Linked DNA regions of Homo sapiens: region 2 is linked to region 1. Evidence: promoter capture Hi-C in human tissues and cell types (Jung and others, 2019). All regions are on one chromosome and are shown on one strand. The core of a region is centred on a gene start or on the middle of the fragment in contact, and the rest is flanking DNA. Distances in the headings are between cores, read along the strand shown. Region 1 holds the start of CNBD2 (cyclic nucleotide binding domain containing 2). Region 2 has its middle 28 kb from the start of NORAD.

Region 1 (5,237 bases), core at 2,588-5,087:
AGTGCAGTGCCATGATCTCGACTCACTGCAACCTCTGCCTCCCAGGTTCAAACAATTCTCCTGCCTCAGCCTCCCAAGTAGCTGGGACTACAGGTTCCCGCTATAAAGCCCAGCTAATTTTTGTATTTTTAGTAGAGACAGGGTTTCATCATGTTGGCCAGGATGATCTCAATCTCTTGACCTCGTGATCTGTCCACCTTGGTCTCCCAAAGTGCTGGGATTACATACGTGAGCCACCATGCCCGGCCTCATATATCTTTCATAGCTTTATTATAGCAAGACTTTCTCTGAGGATTTTACTTCCCCACCATATTGTGAACTCCTGGTAAGCAGGGACCACATCTTATTCACCTTCATATGCTTTGTAAGCATTTGTTGTATAGCTTTTATAATCAGCAAAACAATAAGAATCTTCTCTCTCCCTCTCTCTCTTTTTTTTTTTTTTTTTGAGACGGAGTCTCATTCTGTCACCTAGGCTTGAGTGGTGCAATCTTGGCTCACTGCAACCTGCGCCTCCCAGGCTCAGATGATGCTCCCGCCTCAGCCTCCCGAGTAGCTGGGATTACAGGTGCATGCCACCACACTGGGCTAGTTTTTGTATTTTTAGTAGATACTGGGTTTCACCATGTTGGACGAGCTGGCCTTGAGCTCCTGACCTCAGGTGATCCACCCGCATCAGCCTCCCAAAGTGTTGGGATTGCAGGCATGAGCCACCGCGCTTGGCCGAATCTTCTCATAAATTGTTTGTGGAATTGAATCGAACTCCATTTTATACATTATGAAAATGAGGCCCCAAGTAGTTAAGTGACTTACCTAAGATCACATAGGAATAGGACCAGTGCTCTTTTTGGCATTCTACCCTGTAATAGTTACAGTTATAAAATCAGGAACTGTAAGAGAAATGAAACTTTCTTAGTTTCTAGAACTGACTTAAATGTGTGACTCTGAATCCCCAGCCCACCTCCTTGCAGATAATTGAATTTAGGATGTCTTCAGGTAAATTGAGATCCAATCCAGTAATTTTGAGTGGATATAATTTCAGGCTTATTGATTCATCTTGGGCCCATTCATAGCTCTCCAAACTTCCTGCTTCTTCTTCCCCAAAGCTGATCTAATTCCTAGAGAAATTGTACAACCACAGCTGGCAAGAGGTGAGGTTGGCAGTAAACATTTTTGGGGTCTCATCAGGTCGTACTGGCATCATCTGATGCCCCTTGTGAGCCTGGATACTTTCCTTGTCACTCTTGGATCCTCAGGCAGTTCAGAGGACTGACGGGACACCCTTCCTGCCTATAGCCATCTCCTACCATCTCTCTTGCTTTCTCCAGGCCCAGTTGTTTCTTTCAGAAGCCCCCTACACTTTTGAAGGGGATCCTCTTATATTTCCTTCCTTAAGACTAGGTTTGCAGTGGGGGAGGCAAAAACTCCATACCTCATCTCTCTGTCTCTCTTTCTAAAACTTTCTCTTCTTTCTCTCTCTGAATTCTTTACATCTTTTCTCATGGTATGGGGGAAAAACCAGTTTTGTCCCTTCTCACCTCTGTGTGTGATTACTGTCCCACCCCAAGAGTGGCCTTTGTCTTTCTTCTCAGCTGTCCAGCCATCTTTGCTGAACTCAGTGTCCTTCTGTCTACCTATCAGTTGGAGGAGAGTTAACAGATATACCCCACGGGATAGGAATGGCAGAGCAGGTGATGCTTGAAATCACAGTTTTCTACTGAGGATCCTGGTGCAAGAGCAAATTGAGATACTCAATTGTCATCTTTAATAGAAAAAAGCACTTTAGAGCCTATATTTTTCTATATCTTTAGAAGGACTCCAGAGATTTGAGTTCTAGTCACCAAGTTCCATTCAATATTTGACACTTGATTTGGGTGAGGTCTTCTGTTTTGCTGAGTTTTTTTTTTATTGTCCTGATTTAACCAGACTTATGGGACAGTACTATGCACCCACGTTCCAGGGCCTCCAAGTTCTAAGTCTCAGAGTGGTCCCTGGGCTAAGGTGCTGGATGAACCTACTCCCAGCCTAGAAGCCTCCCGCTGTAACAAAGTACACCCATTTTTCTATGAGATAGAGAATGAGTTATCTTTTTAAATCATCTTTTTCTTCTTTCTCTTTTGTGTTTTTCTTCTGTTCCCCACTTCCTACTTAGCTGATTAGAAATGCAGTTATAACCTTTTGCTTTCCCTTCACCAGACACTCCTAGAGCAAGTGTATCTGTGTGCTTACTTAAAAGCTCCAGAGTAGAAACCTCTCCCACCAGATTGCCTTGAGAGACAATAGTCAATTTACAACCAAAAGTATGCCTGCCAGGAAACTCTGCCCCACCTGGAGAGTATCTCGAGACAAGGCCACTTTACAACCTAGTTCTGCCCAAGATGGTGGCAGCTCGACCAGGCGGTAGATAAGGCACCAAAGTGAGTCATGGAGACTCCCACCTGCTCATTCCCTCCTCTGCATGCCATTTATGCCAATTCCCCCTCCCGCTTTTTTTTTTTTTTTTTTTTTTTTTTTTGAGACAGAGTCTTGCTCTGTCGTTCAGGCTGGAGTGCAGTGGCACAATCTTGGCTGACTGCAACCTCTGCCTCCCGGGTTCAAGTGATCCTCCCACCTCAGCCTCCCGAGTAGCTGGGATTATAGGTGCCCACCACCTCACCCGGCTAATTTTTTTGTATTTTTAGTAGGGATGGGGTTTCACCACATTGGCCAGGCTGGACCAGACCTTGCTTCTGTTAATTGGATGCTACAAATGGAGAGCAAGTGTACCTGACATTTAGCTACACTGCTTTCTTAAAAAAAAAAAAAAAAAAAAGGCCCTGGCCAGGAGTGGTGGTTTATGCCTGTAATCCCGGCACTTTGGGAGGCTGAGGTGGGTGGATCACTTGAGGTCAGGAGCTTGAGACCAGCCTGGGCAACGTGGTGAAAGCCTGTCTTTACTAAAAATACAAAAATCAGCCGGGCATGGTGGCACACGCCTGTAATCCTAGCTACTTGGGCGGCTGAGGCAGGAGAATCACTTGAATTTGGGAGGCAGAGGTTGCAGTGAGCTGAGATTGGGCCACTGCACTCCATCCTGGGAACAAAGTGAGACAGTGTCTCAAAAAACAAAAAAGCCCTATCTTTGCAGGACAGGTGAGCCCCCAAATTGAGACTTAGCTTAGGAGAGTTCTTGGCTTTGCCCAAGGAAGGAATTCAAGGGTGAGCCAGTGGTGTTAGACAGCAATCTTTTATTGAATAGTGCTTCTCCTTGTGGGGCAGGGCTAACTCATGGGCAATGAATCCGGAGTCGATACCCAGTGTATGAGATGTTGGCAACTGTATTTATGCTCATCTCTAATCCCTTCTCAGCCTTTTGGCTGAGATCAAGTGTAGTATACGCATTCCTACCCACTTTCAATCACATGCAAATTAAGGGGCAGGCTAATGCAAATTAAGGGGCAGGTTAATGCAAATTAAGGAGTGGGTTTTTAGAGTTTTCTAGGAAAGAGGTAGCAACTTCCTGGTCATTGCCAAGACATTTGTACACTGTCATGGCACTGGTAGGAGTGTCTTATGTTAATGAGGGATGGGGACAGCTAGGGGGTCCTAGATCCTGTTTTGGTCAGCAGGGTTGTGCCATTCTCCTGTCTCACCAGGACTCTGGCAGCCATTTAGCTACTTTGAGCCCCAGTCTCCTATGTATGGAGTTGAGTAAAAGTTTGGGTGGTTGTGAGGATTAGCTGAGATAATGCCTGTGAGTATCCCATAAATGTTAGACTCCCACATTCCAATCCCTGTGTCCCCTGCCTCCAGAATCTTTCATTGTGACCTTAGGAGATTCTGAGAATGATTTTTCTCAGAGCAGGGCTTCCAGTAGCTGATGGTATGGTAGGAGGAGTGGAGTGGAGCTCTTGCCTTGTTACTGAGGAAATCTATTTGTTTCTAGTATTACTGGATTTTTGGGGAAAAATTTGTAGTCCTCCCCTTGAAAGGCAAAGGGGCTAGTTGTGCCATTTGCCTGCACAGGAACCATGAGGAGACATATGGTAACTTATGCCTGGCAGCTCCTGAAGAAGGAACTGGTGAGGAGGGGCAAGGGCCCTGGGAGGGAAGAGCAGAAGACTGAACAGACAGGTGTTTTGAGGAAGGTCGATGCAGGTGTAGGAGGGGTCTTGGATGAATGGTGGCCATCCTGTACCTTTTGGAGTCACAGCATGGCACAAAGGAGGGACCCCTGCCCTGTAGCCTACCAGCCCCCCACACTGGGCAAGCCATAAGCCACACTCAGAGCCACTGAGTCCTGTTCTGTACCCACTCTTCCTGCTATTATGAGATCCAGAGAGAACGAGGGAGGATAGAGTCAGGGTAGCAACATTGAGTCATAGGTTAAGCTTGTGAACTCTGGAGCCAGACTACCTAGGTTTAAATCCCTATCACCTATTAGTCATGTGACCCCAGGCAAGTTGCTTGGTTTGCTGTGCCTTTATTTTCTCCTCTGTAAAGTGAGATGATAATACTAGTACCTACTGCATAAATTTACTGATTAAATGATTTACATATCAGAATAGTGCTTTGGATAATGCCTGACAATAGTAAATTGTACTCAGTAAGTATTAATTTTATTCATAAAGTACCTTTCCCCATATTTCCATAGATATCTAATTTTTAAGAAATAGAACATTACAGGTGTAGGGAAAGCTCTTTACCATCCCATGCCCCTTTATTTCTCTTTAATAGTAACCACTTTCCTGAAGTTGGTGTCACCCTTCCTGTTTATATTTTTATATATTATCACATGTGTATGTATCCATAAACAATATATAGTATGTGGCACACTGTTTAAAAATGATACCATAAATAGCATCATAGTTCTTTTTTCCCACTCAAAATCATTTCAGCTTTATCCACATTGACACACACAGACTTAGTGCTGTGTTCAATCCTGTGACTGAACCATAATGTATTGATCCCTTCGATCCCTACTAATGAACATTTGTTTTCAGCCATTCACTGTTACACACAATGTTGCCATGATTACCCTCATGGCTATCCCCTTGTACATGTATGTTTCTCTGAAGAGGACATATAAAGTACATACAATTCTTCCATTGTGAAGTACACACATCCTCAACTTTATATAATGTTGCCAAATTGCTCTTCAACATGGTTGTACCATGTTTCCCAGTTCCCAGTGATAAGTGCAAAATAGTATCATGTTATTACTTTAATTTCCATTTCCATTATTTCTAGCAATGTTA
Region 2 (5,283 bases), core at 1,716-4,215, 110 kb after region 1:
AGGGCGTGGGGAGGAGAGGGAGGGCCCTGGGAGGCGAAGCAGCAGGAGGCGGCGACGTGGCCCGAAAGTTCTGCAGGCGCTGCGGTGGCGGCCCCATTTTAACTTTTTTTTTATTTTTTATTTTTTGAGAGGGAGTCTCGCTCTGTTACCCAGGCTGGAGTGCAGTAGCGCGATCTCGGCTCACTGCAAGCTCTGCCTCCTGGGTTCACGCCATTCTTCTGCCTCAGCCTCCCGAGTAGCTGGGACTACAGGCACCCGCCACCACGCCCGGCTAATTTTTTGTATTTTTCGTAGAGACGGGGTTTCACTGTGCTAGCCAAGATGGTCTCAATCTCCTGACCTCGTGATCCGCCTGCCTCGGCCTCCCAAAGTGCTGGGATTACAGGTGTGAGCTACCACACCCGGCAAACTTAAAAAAAATTTTTTTTTTGAGACAGAGCCTCCCTCTGTCGCCAGGCTGGAGTGCAGTGGTGCGATCTCGGCTCACCACAACCTCCGCCTCCCGGTTTCAAGCGATTCTCCTGCCTCAGCCTCCCGAGTAGCTGGGATTACAGGCACGGGCCACCACGCCCAGCTAATTTTTGTATTTTTAGTACAGACGGGGTTTCGCCATGTTGGACAGGCTGGTCTCGAACTCCCGATCTCAGGTAATCTGCCAGCCTTGGCCTCCCAAAGTGCTGGGATTACAGACGTAAGCCACCACACCTCACCCATTTTAACTATTTTTAAGTATACAATTCAGTGACATTAAGTTCATTCACAAAGTAGTGTAATCATCACCACTTCCTATTTCCAGAACTTTTTCATCATCCCAAACAGACACTCTGTACCCATTAAACAACATTCCCCATTTTCCCCTTCCCTCAGCCTCTGGTAACCTCTATTTATTTTAATTTCTGTCTCTACGAATTTACCTATTCTAGATACTTCATATGAGTGGAATCATACAACGTTTGTATTTATTTTTGTTTGTTTGTTTGAGACAGAGTACAGTGTTGGGATCATAGCTCACTGCAGCCTCAACCTCCCAGGCACAAGTGATCCTCCCACCTCAGCCTCCTGGGTAGCTAGGACTACAGGCACACACCACCACACCTGGCTAATATTTAAAAATTTTTTGTAGAGACGGTGAAACAGGAACCCTCGAAGGGTGTGCAATGGGGGTGTGGCTTGCTTCTTCAGTGCCCTGCTGCTCAAACCTCTAGGGGAGCATACAGATGGGCAGGCTGTGGGGCTCCGACCCCACAGCAGTGTCTAGGGGTGAATGTTTACAGCTGAAGCCCCAATGGGCGTGTGTTATAGGGTGCTCTTTTAGGTTGCCATCTATAGGCGGCTTGTGTTAACCAGCTCAATTAAACCCCCTTCCTTACCACAAGGACAGAGGGATTTCTGTATCCTGGGGTTTCTTGCCTTGTTGTACCTGGAAGAACTGGATCACATGTGGGCTTGGAGAATGAGTGCAAGGTTTTATTGAGTAGAACTAGCTCTCAGCAGATGGGGGAGTTGGGGAGCCAGAAGGGAAATGGTTTTCCCCTGGAAATGTTCTCATCATGTTCACCAACATGGTGAAACCCTGTCTCTACTAAAAATATTTTTAAAATTAGCTGGGCATGGTGGTGTGCGCCTGTAATCCCAGCTACTCAGGAGGCTGAGGCAGGAGAATCACTTGAACCGGGGAGGCAGAGGTTGCAGTGAGCAGAAATCGAGCCACTGCACTCCAGCCTGAGTGACAAAGCAAGACTCCGTTTCAAAAAAAAATGTTAGTAAGGATGTGAAGAAAGTGAACCTTCATATATTGCTGGGGGACTGTCAAATAGTATCGCTGCTTTGAAGTTCTTCAAAAAGTAAAACAGAGTTACCACATGACCCAGCAATTCCACTGCTAGGCGTATATCCAAGAGAAATGAAAATGTATGTTCATAGGCGGGGCACAGTGGCTCACGCCTGTAATCCCAGCACTTTGGGAAGCCAAGGTGGGCAGATCACTAGAGGTCAGGAGTTCGAGACCAGCCTGGCCAACAAGATGAAACCCCGTCTGTACTAAAAATACAAAAATTAGCTGGGCGTGGTGTCAGGCACCTGTAAGCCCAGCTACTCGGGAGGCTGAGGCAGGAGAATCATTTGAACCAGGGAGATGGAGGTTGCAGTGAGCAGAGATCACGCCACTGCACTTTAGCCTGGGCGACAGAGTGAGACACTGTCTCAAAACAAACAAACAAAAACACAAAAAACAAAACAAAACAAAAATGGAGGCTGGGCATGGTAGCTCATGCCTGTAATCCTAGCACTTTGAGAGGCCGAAGTGGTCGGATCACCTGAGGTCAGGAGTTTGAGACCAGCCTGACCAACATGGAGAAACCCCATCTCTACTAAAAATATAAAATTAGCTGGGCATGGTGGCACATGCATGTAATCCCAGCTACTCGGGAGGCTGAGGCAGGAGAATCACTTAAACCTGGGAGGCAGAGGTTGCGGTGAGCTGAGATCTCGCCATTGCACTCCAGCCTGGGCAACAAGAGCAAAACTCCGTCTCAAAAAAAAAAAAAAAAAAAAAAAAAAAAGGGAGGTGGGGGGCACTGGCTGTGGTGGCTCACGCCTGTATTCCCAGCATTTTGAGAGACCGAGGTGGGTGGATCACCTGAGGTCAGGAGTTTGAGACCAGCCTGGCCAACATGGTGAAACCCCATCTCTACTAAAAATACAAAAAAATTAGCCAGGAGTGTTGGTGCATGCCTCCCAGCTACTCGGGAGGCTGAGGCAGAAGAATCACTTGAACTCGGGAGGCAGAGCTTGCAGTGAGCTGAGATGTGAGCCGAGATTGCACCACTGCACTCCAGCCTGGGTGACTGAATGAGACTTCGTCTCAAAAAAAAAAGAAAGAAAATGTACGTTCACACAAAAACTTGTACACAATGTTTATCGTGTTATTATTTCTTATAGCCAGCAGGTAGAAACAACCCAGATGTCCATCCACTGACGAATAGCTAAACAAAATGTGGTATATCCATACAGTGGACTATTATTCAGCCATAAAAAGGAATAACACTGATTCACACTACAACATGGATGAACCTTGAAAATCTTACGCTAAATGAGGGAAACCAATCACAAAATAACATATATTGTATGATCCATTTATATGAATAAATCAAGACAGAAAGTAGATTAGTGGTTGCCAAGGGATAGTAGGAAGTTGGGAATGGGGAATAACGGTTAATAGTGTGACTGCCCAGTGTGCTCACCTTGCCCACTGCCAAGACAGAGCCGATTTATCAAGACAGAGAAATTGCAATAGAGAAAGAGTAATTCATGCAGAGCCGGCTGTGCGGGATACCAGAGTTTTATAATTACTCAAATCAGTCTCCCCAAGCATTCGGGGAGCAGAATTTTTAAGGACGACTTGGTGGGTTGGGGGAAGCCAGTGAGCCAGGAGTGCTGAATGGTCAGGGATGAAATCACAGGGAGTCGAAGCTGTCTTCTTGAGCTGAGTCACTTCCTGGATGGGGGTCACGAGATCAGATGAGCCAGTTTATCAATCTGGGTGGTGCCAGCTGATCCATCAAGTGCAGGTCTGCAAAATATCTCAAGCATTGATCTTAGGAGCAGTTTAGAGAGGGTCAGAATCTTGTAGCCTCCAGCTGCATGACTCCTAAACCTTAATTTCTAATCTTATGGCTAATATTAGTCCTACGAAGGCAATCTAGTCTCCAGGCAAGAAAGAGGTCTGCTTTTGGAAAGGGCTGTTATCGTCTTTGTTTTAAACTATAAACTACGTCCAGGCACGGTGGCTCATGCCTGTAATCCCAGCACTTTGGGAGGCTGAGGCAGGTGGATCACTTGAGGTCAGGAGTTTGAGACCAGCCTGGCCAACATGGTGAAATGCTGCCTCTACCAAAAATACAAAAATTAACCGGGTGTGGTGGTGGGCACCTGTAATCCCAGCTATTCAGGAGGCTGAGGCAGAAGAATCGCTTGAACCCAGGAGGTGGAGGTTGCAGTGAGCCGAGGTCATGCCATTGAACCCCAGCCTGGGTGACAGAGTGAGACTCCGTATCAAAACAAAAACAAAAAAAACCTATAAAAACTATAAACTAAGTTTCTCCCAAAGTTAGTTCAGTCTATGCCTAGGAATGAACAAGGACAGCTTGGAGGTTAGAAGCATGTAGAGTCGATTAAGTTAGATCTCTTTCACTGTCTCAGTCATAATTTTGCAAAGGCAGTTTCAATAGGCATGGGATTTCTTTTTGGGGGTGATGAAATGTTCTGGAATTAGAGAGTGGTGATGGTTTCACAACTTTGTGGATATACTAAAAACCAACTAAATTGCACACTTTAAAATGATTAATTTTATATGTTAATTATATCTCAAGAAAAAGTACAGTATATGATAGTAGGCACCCATGTACATACTACCTAATTCCAGAAAAAAACTGTTACAAATACCATTGCAATTTCCTATGTACTGTTCTTCCATCCCATTCCCCTCCCTCTCTACCCAGAAGTGGCCACTACCGTGAAGTTGGTGTTTATCATGGCAATTGTCTTCATTTATTTGGGCTGCTATCACGAAATACTTTAGACTGAGTATCTTATACGCAACAGAAACTTATTTTTCACAGTTCTGGAGGTTGGGAAGGCCAAGATCAATGGGGTGAGGGCCTACTTTCTCACAGACTTCACGTTTTTACGGTGACCTCACATGGTGGAAGGGACCAGCTAGCTCTCTTAGGTCTCTTTTATAAGGGCAGTAATCCCATTCATGAGGGTACCCAATCATCTCCTAAAGGCCTCATCTTCTAACACTGTCACATTTGGGATTACGTTTCAATGTATGACTCTTGGGGACACACAAACATTCAGAGCATAGCAGTAATACATGTCTTTATAACTTTTAACAAATGTATGAGTATCCCTAAACAATATATAGCATTGCTTTGTATGTTTTTAAGCTTAATATACATCACATAAGTTGCATCCTCTGCAATATTCTTTTTTCCTACCAACATTATGTTTTTGAGAATTATCCATATTCTTTTTTTTTTTTTTTTGAGACAGAGTCTGGCTCTGTCGCCCAGGCTAGAGTGCAGGGTGTGATCTCGGCTCACTGCAACCTCTGCCTCCAGGGATCAAGTGATTCTCCTGCCTCAGCCTCCCGAGCAGCTGCGATTACAGGTGCCCACCACCACACCCAGCTAATTTTTGTATTTTTTTGTAGAGACAGAGTTTCACCATGTTGTTCAGGCTGGTCTCCAACTCCCGACCTCAAGTGATCTGCCTGCCTTG

What was found. Contacts are between HindIII fragments. The study calls those that stand out against the background at their distance.
Region 2: a contact is called between a fragment that was not itself captured here and the fragment with the promoter of CNBD2 in region 1, in 4 of the 25 tissues and cell types used here (IMR-90 fibroblasts, dorsolateral prefrontal cortex, lymphoblastoid cells and 1 more).

The regions. Positions count from the first base shown.
Region 1 is chr20:35,964,753-35,969,989 of GRCh38, forward strand. CNBD2 (cyclic nucleotide binding domain containing 2) reads left to right here and starts at 3,838. Exons shown (of 12, transcript NM_001365709.1): 1 at 3,838-4,061. The coding sequence starts at 4,011. It also overlaps the pseudogene LOC124904982. The HindIII fragment of the contact is 12,223 bases long and covers 1-5,237 here.
Region 2 is chr20:36,076,663-36,081,945 of GRCh38, forward strand. It overlaps the pseudogene HMGB3P2. Among named protein-coding and RNA genes, the nearest start is that of NORAD, 28 kb to the left of the region's middle. The HindIII fragment of the contact is 7,705 bases long and covers 1-5,283 here.